Linked DNA regions of Homo sapiens: region 2 is linked to region 1. The links are contacts of gene promoters, found by promoter capture Hi-C in blood cells and fetal thymus (Javierre and others, 2016). All regions are on one chromosome and are shown on one strand. Each heading gives the region's core, a stretch centred on a gene start or on the middle of the fragment in contact. The rest is flanking DNA. Distances are from core to core; before and after follow the strand shown.

Region 1 (5,106 bases), core at 2,587-5,086:
TGCTGCACTCCAGCCTGGGTGACAAAGCAAGACTTTCTCTCAAAAAAAAAAAGGAAAGAATAAAAAAAGAAAAACCAAGGTTAGGATGCCAACAGATTCCATGTCTGATGAGGGCCCATTACTCATAGACAGCGCCTTCCATATGTCCTCACATGGTGGAAGACAGACAAGCTCCCTCAAGGCTTTCTTACAAAGGCACTAATCCTATTTATGAGGGTGCAACCATCACGCTCTAATCTCCTCCCTATGGTCCCGCCTTTTAATACCATAACCTAGGGGGTTAGGATTTCCCATACAAATCTGGGGAGGGGAGAAACAAACATTCAGACTGTAGCAGATGCAGCAATAGTAACTTTAGGAATGTGGAATTTATAAAGAGCACTCATTCTTCCCCATTCCCCACAGCCATCCAGTCTCCAAGGCTGGTCTACTCAGCCTGGACAATCTGTCTCTAAGCTACGCCTCTTCTTGATCACACTATTCCTGCCCTGGGTAGCTCTTCAAGAACCTTACCTTGATTTCTGGCAACATTCTCCATTCTAATATCTCTGTCTCCAATTAGAAACATTCTCAAAGGCATCCCTTTGCAGGACTACAGAACAATATTTTTCAGAAGCACACACCTGACAAGTCACTGTCCTGCTTAAATGGTTATTCATGTTATTATGAAGAAATTCCAAGTCCTTCTTGTAGCATTCAGGACCCTCCAACAGATGGCTTCTGCCACTTGCTACACACTCAGTGTTTATTGCTGTCTGCCTCACCATCTATGCTCCAATAACCGCAGGTAACCTGCTATTTTTTGACCCTTTCCTGCGTGCTTTCACTCTCCTCTGCCTGGAATGTATTTTTTTTTGCTTCTTTATCTGAGTCTTTAAGATTCATCCCGGATGTTATCTGCATTGCACTTGGAAGTGACCCTGGACCCTGTCAGTCTCAGTTAGTTGTTCCTTTTGGGAAATCTCATAATGAACCAGGCATCTGTCTATCACTATATACCCCCACTCTACTGTGACTGCTTAGGGAAATGGCAGAGGACACCATTGTGCACAAAGGGTGCATAAGACTATGCTTAGTCACAGTAGAGTGACGCTGTCACCTCTTTACCTGGGTAGTCGGCATCTCCAGGGTAAGGCACATGTCTGTTTAAGCTCTATGTCTGCAGGAGCCAGCAAGGGAGCACCTCTTCAGAGGCCTCATGCAATACCCACCACCCTTTATTATACTGATAAGTAAATTCCATTTTAATCAGGTGGCAGGTAGCAATGTGCCACTGTCCTAGGAAAGCAATCATGATTGGCCTAAGCCAATATGAGCAACTTGTCTTTTTTTTTTTTTTTTTTTTTTTTGAGGTAAGGTATTGCTCATTGCCCAGGCTCGAGGGCAGTGGCATCATCATGGCTCACTGCAGCCTCAACTTCCCTGACAAAGCAGTCCTCCCACTTCACCTCCTGAGTAGCTGGAACTACAGGTCCACACCACCACACCCAGCTAATATTTTTTTGGTTTTAGAGATGGGGTCTCACTATGTTGCCCAGGCTGGTCTTGAACTCCTGAGCTCAAGCAATCTTCCTGTCTTGGCCTCCCCAAATTCTGGCATTACAGGCGTGAGCCACTGTCCCTGACCTTTATTTTTATGTATCGGTATTTTTGTTATTTCTTGGCCATTGATTGGTCTAGAGATGGCATGCTCTGGCAATGAAAGACAAGGAGAGGTCCTGAAGAGACTCTGGACAAGGTTTCCCTCTGTAATAAAATGGAAGAGGCATGTGAATGAGTCACATTTTCTGCCTGTCTCATGATTCTGGCTCGGGAGGGCCTGTTGATGCAATGTCCAGAACAGTGGCAGCCATTCTGTGGTCACTTTCAAGAAAGCCCTAGAAGAAAACCAATATGATGATGGAGTGGAAGGGTGACATTAAACTCAATTTTTGTTCAAACTCCAGATCTATCCCCTTCCAAAACTTTTTTTAATAATAAATTTCTCCATGGCTTATGTGCTTCATTGGTTTACTCTACCTTATCACTGAAAACATCCAGTGAATCAGAGAGAAAATAGAAAATAGTTGACTCTTGTTTTGTGGCTCTCCACTGTTTTTCATGGTTCTATTCCTTGGGCTTGAGAACAACATTCTGATGGTGTTTAAAAACTCAGAAAGAGCCCATCTCCTTAGATCAGTAGTCCATAGAGCATCTCCCTAGGGGCAGAAGGTTAGGGGGTTAATCTCGGCAATGGTGTGGAGTGTACAGTGTCTCTCATTTACCTTCCTTACCTCTCTACATGCTCCTAGTTACTGCTTCTCTTTGTAACTCTGAGGTATGAAATACCTCAAAGCATATTTGATTTTGTCACAGATTTCTGGCACAGGGCTCTTAAAACCCTTGGAATTCCCTGAGTGATAGGAGTATTATTTGTTATTCATAAACAGCCCCTTTTGATCATAGCTGAGTTTATGCTAAGGAGATCATGGCCTTAGGATGGGACTGGTCACCAGAAAGACCAAGGGATTAGAGGGTTGGAGCTGTCAGCCCCACCTACTGATCTCCAGGAAGGGGAGGCAGGGACTGGAGATTGAGTTCCATAAAAACTCTTGAACAATGAGATTTGATGAGCTTCCACATTGGTGAACACTCAGGAGTGCTGGGAGAGTGGCTGCCTGAAGAGAGCATGGAAGCTCCATGCACCACCCAACCCCTTCCCTGCCATATACCTGCCATATGCCTCTTTCCAATGGACTATTCCTGAGGTATATTCCTTATATAAAGCAACAGATGCAAACAAAGTGCTTTCCTGAGTTCTGTGTGCCATTCTAGCAATTTATTGGTGTCATTGGAACACCCAATTTATAGCCTGTCAGTCAGAAGTACAAGTAGCCACCTGGGACTTGCAACAGATGTCTGATCTGATCTGAGAACAGTTTGTGGGAGTGAGCCCTTTAGCTTTTCGGATCTGAGCTGAATCCAGGTAGACAGCATCATAACCGAATTTTTAATTGCAGGTGGCCCAGGTGGTGTCCCCAGAGAATTGGAGAATTTCTTGGTGTAGAGAAAAAGTATATTTGGTCAGAAGGATTGTGAAAGTAGAGAATCGAGTTTTTGTTTCACCGTGCATCTTTGTTTTTTTATTGTTTTTCCTCTCATTCTTCTCACCTTGGTAATTGTTTCTTTCATTTTCCTGAATCTCTGAAAAGAAAGGGCCTGGACTCTCAGATTTCTTGGCCTTTGATATTTGGAAGGATGAACTCCAGTCTCCCACAGAAGGCTAGAGGTGAAGGAACATTCAGACACATAAGTTTCCAAGATAAATCGTCTGAGAACATCTCCAAGGTGTCTTCTGGGAATGGTAAGAAACCCTGAGTTTGTGTCACTGGATTGATTCCAGCTCCATTGTCCCCGTGTCCTTCAACTAAGTCTCTGCTGAAGCCTGTTCTATAAAAACAGCAAGTAAGTGGTTTGGACTGACCTATTGTACTAGGTTCGACAAAGCAAACCAAATGGAGTCAGTCATACTAAAACTCCACATCACCAAACCAAAACTAATGTATCTGAACTTTTGAGAAATCAGGAGAGAGAGAAAATGGACAAATTCCTAAAACAGGCCAGTTTCAGTGGGCATGAACATGAAGTTCTGTCTGCTTTCATCTTTACAAAAAAAAAAAAAAAGCAATCTGTGGTAACTTGACTTCAATCAATCAGTTGTTCCTTATTGCTGTCTCTCTATTCCTGCTGCACAAAAAAAATGCAACATCCAGATGACCAATCAGGTTTTTGTTCTCTGTTTCTGCTTTCTTTAGCCCTCCTATCCCTGTAAAACCAACTTCCTTGGCTCTAACTATCAAAACACTCATTTTGTTTTATAGCATGACAGGCTGTCTGATTCCATCTTTATAACCAAAGCCAATTAAGATCTTAAAACCAAACATATAACTTCATCTTTTTACAAGTACTTAGAGCCTGAGTTGCTCCACAGGAATCCAGGAACTGGGCACAGGAAAAGGATCTAAGCTGGTGGTAAGTTGGGGTCTGAAAATTTTAAAGTTATTGTTGAAATGCCTGCTATATGACAGAGCCCTTCTAACTCTGGAGTAGCGTAGTCCAGTGAAGAATCCACTTCGTTAGTATGAAAACAATGTTAACTATTTCATTAACAGTGTTTAATTTGGTTACATGTTCCAGTAACATTCTTTTTTTTTTTTTTTTTTTTTTTTTTTTTGATGGAGTCTTGCGCTGTCACCCAGGCTGGAGTGCAGTGGCACAATCTCAGCCCACTGCAACCTCTGCCTCCCAGGTTCAAGCGATTCTCCTGCCTCAGCCTCCTGAGTAGCTGGGATTACAGGCACCTGCCACCACGCCTGGCTAATTTTTTGTATTTTTAGTAGAGACGGGGTTTCAATATGTTGGCCAGGCTGGTCTTCAACTCCTGACCTCGTGATCTGCCCACCTCGGCCTCCCAAAGTGCTGGGATTACAGGCGTGAGCCAATGTGACTGGCCAATTCTTTATCATATATGTAATTAAATAAAATTTATTACTAAAATAATTTCCCCAAAGGTGTTTTACTTTTTTAAAAACAGTGGCTACAAAAAAATTTTGAGTCCCATATGTAGCTAAAGTTAACACATTATATTTCTACTGGACATGTAGCATTGTAGAGATGTAGCATTGAAGGATCTTGATAGTCCTGTGGAGCTTACGTACTAGTGTGGAGGGTATTTAAGAGAGAAGATAAATGAACAAACAAATAAAGGAGAAAAGTATCTGGTGAGATAGGCTGTACCTGAGCATTCTGCTTTGCAGAGTGGGTGAGGTGGGATCTCTCTGAAATAATATTTGACCTGAAATATGAATATTCAGGATGAGCCAGGTGCAGGAAGCTCAAGACGAAGAGCACGGTAGGCAGAAGGAATAGAGAAAGCAGAAGCCCTGAGATGACAAAGAGCTGCAAGTTCAAGGAATTAGAGCCCAGTGGGTGGAGCCCAGTGTGTCTGATGAGAGTGCAGAGATGAGGTCTGAGGGATGCACAGGGCACATGTGGCAGTGGATAAGGGAACCTAGGATAAGGGAACCTAAGATAAGGGTAACTTAGAAGTCTGGAAGCCATCGGAAG
Region 2 (5,279 bases), core at 776-3,275, about 15 Mb before region 1:
GAGCGAGAAGTAAAAGATTTTCCACATTCTTTACAATCATAGGGTTTCTCACCAGTGTGAACTGCCTGATGTCCAATTAGCCCTGAGCGAAAAGTAAAAGATTTTCCACATTCCTTACAATGATAGGGTTTCTCACCAGTGTGAATTCGCTGATGTTGAAGTAGTGCTGAGCCAGAAGCAAAAGATTTTCCACATTCTTTACAATTATAGGGTTTCTCACCAGTGTGGATTCGCTGGTGTCGATTGCGTGTTGAGCGAAAAGTAAAAGATTTTCCACATTCCTTACAACAATAGGGTTTCTCACCAGTGTGAATCCGCTGATGTTGAAGTAGTGCTGAGCCCGAAGCAAAAGATTTCCCACACTCCTTACAATCATAGGGTTTCTCACCAGTGTGAATTCGCTGATGTTGAATTAGTGTTGAGCCAGCAGTAAAAGATTTTCCACATTCTTTACAATCATAGGGTTTCTCACCAGTGTGAATTGCCTGGTGTCCAATTAACCCTGAGCGAAAAGTAAAAGATTTCCCACATTCCTTACAATCATAGGGTTTCTCACCAGTGTGAATTCGCTGATGTCGAATTAGAGCTGAGTGAAAAGTAAAAGATTTTCCACATTCCTTACAGTCATAGGGTTTCTCACCAGTGTGAATTCGCTGATGTCGAATTAGTGCTGAGCCTGAAGCAAAAGATTTTCCACATTCCTTACAATCATACGGTTTCTCACCAGTGTGAATTTGCTGGTGTCGAATTAGTGTTGAGCCAACAGTAAAAGATTTTCCACATTGCTTACAATGATAGGGTTTCTCACCAGTGTGAATTTGCTGATGTTGATTTAGTGTTGAGCCAGAAGTAAAAGATTTCCCACATTCTTTACATTCATAAGGTTTGTCACCAGTATGAATTCTCCAATGTTGAATAAGATGTGCAGACGGTCTAAAGGCCTTCACGGATTCCTGACACTCATGAGGTCTCTCATCTGTATACATTTTCTGGTGTTGAATAAGATGTGAGCCAGAAATAAAAGCTTTTCCATATTCTTTACATGCACAGGGCTTTTCCCCAGTATGAATTCTCTGATGTTTAACAAGATAGGAAAAGTGATGAAAGGCCTTCCCACACTCCTTACATTTATAGAGTTTTTCACCAGTATGGGTTTCTTGCTGTTGTGTAAGTTCTGAGCCATACTTAAAAGCCATACATTCTGTGGATTTATACAGTTTCTCTCCAGGATGAATCCGATGATGCAGAGTGAGAGATGTCTGTAGGCAGAAAGTTGGTGTTGTTTCATAAGTCATTATTGCTTTTTCCAAATATCGCTCCTGATTTATATCTTGGTGCTGAAACTGGCCTTTGCATTCCCAGTCATCTCTGACACTGGAGCCCACAAGGCTATGACATTTTTCCATTCTCACCCACTGAGATGATGTTACTTCATAGATTTCTTTTGGCAAACATGAATCTTTGGTCTTACATCTAAACTCCGAGTCTGAAAAATAACCAGAAAGCAAAAACATAGCATTTCCTTGTTGAGTAGAAATAAAAACATCTATGGTAGAAAGGGGAGACAAACTGAAAATAATGTCCTTAAGAATTAAAGATGTGTTGGGCGTGGTGGCTCATGCCTGTAATCCCAGCGCTTTGGGAGTCTGAGACAGGAGGATTGCTTGAGCCCAGGAGTTCAAGGCTGCAGTGAGCTGTGATTGTGCCACTACACTCCAGCCTGGGCCACAGAGCAAGACCCTGTCTTAAAAAAAAAAAAAAAAAAAAAAAGATGGTGTACATACATGGTATACATGGTGATAGTATGTACCCTTATATGATGTGATGAGAACAGTATTTTATCTCTGTGATCTTCCTTCTAAAAATACTGAACTCCAGTCTAATCACTGGAAAAACACCAGACAAATCCCAAAATGAGAGACAATCTATGAAATACCTGGCCAGTACTCTCCAAAACTATTGAGATAATCACAAACAAGGAAAGCCTGAAAAGCTGTCAAAGCAAAGAGGAGCCAAGGGAAACATAATGACTCAATGCAATGTGTTAGCCTAGCCAAGATCCTAGAATAGGAAAAAAGGACATTAGGTAAAAGCTAAGGAGGCCAGGCACAGTGGCTCACACCTATAATCCCAGCACTTTGGGAGGCTGAAGCGGGCGGACCACAAGGTCAGGAGTTCAAGACCAGCCTGGCCAACATGGTGAAACCCTGTCTCTATTAAAAATACAAAAATGAGCCAGACGTGTGGCCCATGCCTGTAATCTCAGCTACTCGGGAGGCTGAGACAGGAGAATCACTTGAGCCCGGGAGGCTGAGGTTGCAGTGAGCCAAGATCGTACCATTGCACTCCAGCCTAGGCAACAAAAACCAGACTCCATCTCAAAAAAAAAAAAAAAAAAAAAAAAAAGCTAAGGAAATCTGAGTAAAGTAGGGGTTTCCATTAATAATAATAGATCTCAGCACCATAGGAAAGGTAAATAATAATAACAACATTGCTTCAACAATGTTATTATTTAATAGGATCAACATTCATTCATTAATTATGACAAATGTACAAATATAAAATGTTAATGGGAAACTACATGTGATGTATATGGGAAGTCTCTGTACTAACCTCACAACTTTTCTGTAAGTCTAAAACTATCCTAAAACCTAAAGTTTACTTTTTTAAAGTGAGAAAGTAACATCTCACTAGCAAAAAGGCCAAGCAAATTTTTGTAAAAGACACAAATGGGGTATCAGTATCTAAAAATTAAAAAATGAATCATTGAAACTTAAAATTCAATGAATGAATTTGAATTGGCAGTATAAGAGTGCAATCATGATTTTTAAAAAATACTATACATCTTCATCCATTGAAGCCTTAGAAACAACCAATCTGGCAGCAATGAACACGCTAATGACAGATTACTGTCTCTAAATACCATTTCTTACTACACAGAACCTAGGCTCCTTGGAGCATCTTGGGATTAGAACAGAAAGTGTGCATTATGAGCATGGAAAAAGCTGGCATATTAGAAAAGCAAAGAAGCTTATTCAAGACTCCTAGGGTCATGTCAAAAAGACTCAGGAACCATTGTGAAGAGGGTCCCATTGGCCAAAGATGGGACAAGTTGAGCATGAATTCAAGAATAAAAACTGTAATCATTGTAATGTAATTACAATAAATCACATCAAATTTTTTTAAATCTGTGTGTTCATAAGGACAATTTTAAAATTACCTAGTAATTTTTAGGGGATGAGATGAGGAATGGCTGCTAACTTCACAAAAACAGAAACAACCAGATATGTGCTTCTTGATGAAATACACAATACTAATATCACATAGTCTGTTTATAGGAAAGAAAGGAGTAAAGGGAGGAGAGCTAAATGTTAAATGACAGATGATCCAGTTTCTTCAACATATAAATTTCAAGGAGAAAAAGAGAAAGAAATCAACAACAAAACCTCACTGGAATGGTTAAATAACTGGAAATGCAAAAGCAAGGTTAAAAGTCATAAAGAAAAGTCAAAGAATTCATTTGTCTTCCTGAAAGTAATACTGAAAGAACAGGGAGCAAACTATATTCAAGATGGAACAGCTAAAATTTATTCAGAAGTGATGAGGTTTTCTAAAAAAAATCTGAGGTGCCATGAGTGCCATGGATGGTAAATTTTAAAAGTTCTACGGGGCCAGGTGCGGTGGCACACGCCTGTAATCTCAGCACTTTGGGAGTCTGAGGCAGGTGGATCACCTGAGGTCAGGAATTCAAGACCAGCCTGGTCAACATGACAAAACCCCGACTTTACTAAAAATACAAAATAAGCCAGGCATGGTGGTGCACGCCTGAATTCTCAGCTACTCAGGGGGCTGAGGCAGAAGAATTGCTTAAATCCAGGAGACAGAGTTTGCAGTGAGCCGAAATTGTGCCACTGCATTCCAGCCTGGGCGACAGAGCGAGACTTCATCTCAGGAAAAAAAAAAAAAAAAAAAAAGTAAAAGTTCTATAAGCCAGGCATGGTGGTTCATGGCTCTAATCCCAACACTTTGGGATGCCAAGACTGCAAGATTACCAGAGCCCAGGAGTTCAAGACCAGCCTGGGCAACAGCCTGGGACACTGTCTCAAAAAAAAAAAAAAAAAAAAAAAAGCCGGGTGTGGTGGCACATGCCTGTAGCCTCAGGTACTCGGGAGGCTAAGGCGGGAGGATCACCTGAGCCCGGAAAGTCAATGCTGCAATGAGCTGTGGTCAAGCCACTGCACTCCAGCCTGGGTGACCACGGGAGAACCTGTCTCTTAAAAAAAAATTATGCATGATGAAATCCCAATAATAAGAACAAAATGGACAGGAAAAAAAAAAATAGCTTACACACCATGCTTGCTATATGCCAGGCACTATTTTCACTGCTTTACACATTTACTATATAAGCTCATTTAATCTTCAGAAGAATCCTGTGAATAGCATATATATTTGCAAATGAGGACCAGAGAGGTTAAGTAAATTGCCAAAAGTCATAGAGGTATTAAATAGCAGAGCTAGGATTTGAATGGAGGCAATCTGGCTCAAGAGTCCATGCTTTCAACTTCCAAATCAGTGGAATCGAACTAAGTATGGGCATCAGATTTTTTTAAAACCTCAAATCTAAAACAGTGTAAAATAAAACAGGCAACAGAAGACAGGAAAAGTGAGACAAATAGAATAAGCTGGTTAAAAAAATTCAAACAGGCCAAGAGAGGTGGATTGTGCCTGTATTTTCAGCTACTCGGGAGGCTGAGGTATGCAGATTGCTTGAGCCTAGGGGGTTGAGGCTGTGGTGAGCTGTGATTGCTCCACTGCACTCAGCCCGGGCAACAGAGAGAGAGAGACCCTGTCTCAAAAAAAAAAAAAAAAAAATCCAAATACATCACTAATTATAAGGAATGTAAACAAAGAAAAAGTAAATTTCAACCCTTTTAAAATAAAAAGTGACTAAAAACATGAGGACACAAAAAAGTTGAAGTAAAAACTAAGAAAATGAAAATCAGGCAAGTATTCATGAATAGAAAGCTAGGGTCTTAGCACTGGAAAAAAATAGACTTTAAGGTGAAAACATTCTTGGGAATAAAGAGGATTACTACATAATAAAACGTTCATTCACCAAAAAGATATAACAATTCTAAATTTGTAAGCATCCAGTAAAATAAACTCTAAATATGCAAAGTAAAAATTGAGAAAATACAAAAAGTTTAGGCTTCATCTTGATTGTGGGAGATTTCTTTTTTTTAGTTATTTTTTTTGAGATGGAGTCTCACTCTGTCACC

The links. Contacts are between HindIII fragments. The CHiCAGO score rates a contact against its expected background, and 5 or more counts as called.
Region 2: a contact is called between a fragment that was not itself captured here and the fragment with the promoter of FPR3 in region 1, in 1 of 17 cell types (total CD4 T cells). The highest score is 6.2, in total CD4 T cells.

The regions. Positions count from the first base shown.
Region 1 is chr19:51,791,321-51,796,426 of GRCh38, forward strand. It overlaps FPR3 (formyl peptide receptor 3), which reads left to right and starts at 3,837. Exons shown (of 2, transcript NM_002030.5): 1 at 3,837-4,011. The HindIII fragment of the contact is 12,110 bases long and covers 1-5,106 here.
Region 2 is chr19:36,749,319-36,754,597 of GRCh38, forward strand. It overlaps ZNF850 (zinc finger protein 850), which reads right to left. Exons shown (of 5, transcript NM_001193552.2): 5 at 1-1,486. Among named protein-coding and RNA genes, the nearest start is that of ZNF850, 21 kb to the right of the region's middle. The HindIII fragment of the contact is 2,006 bases long and covers 1,023-3,028 here.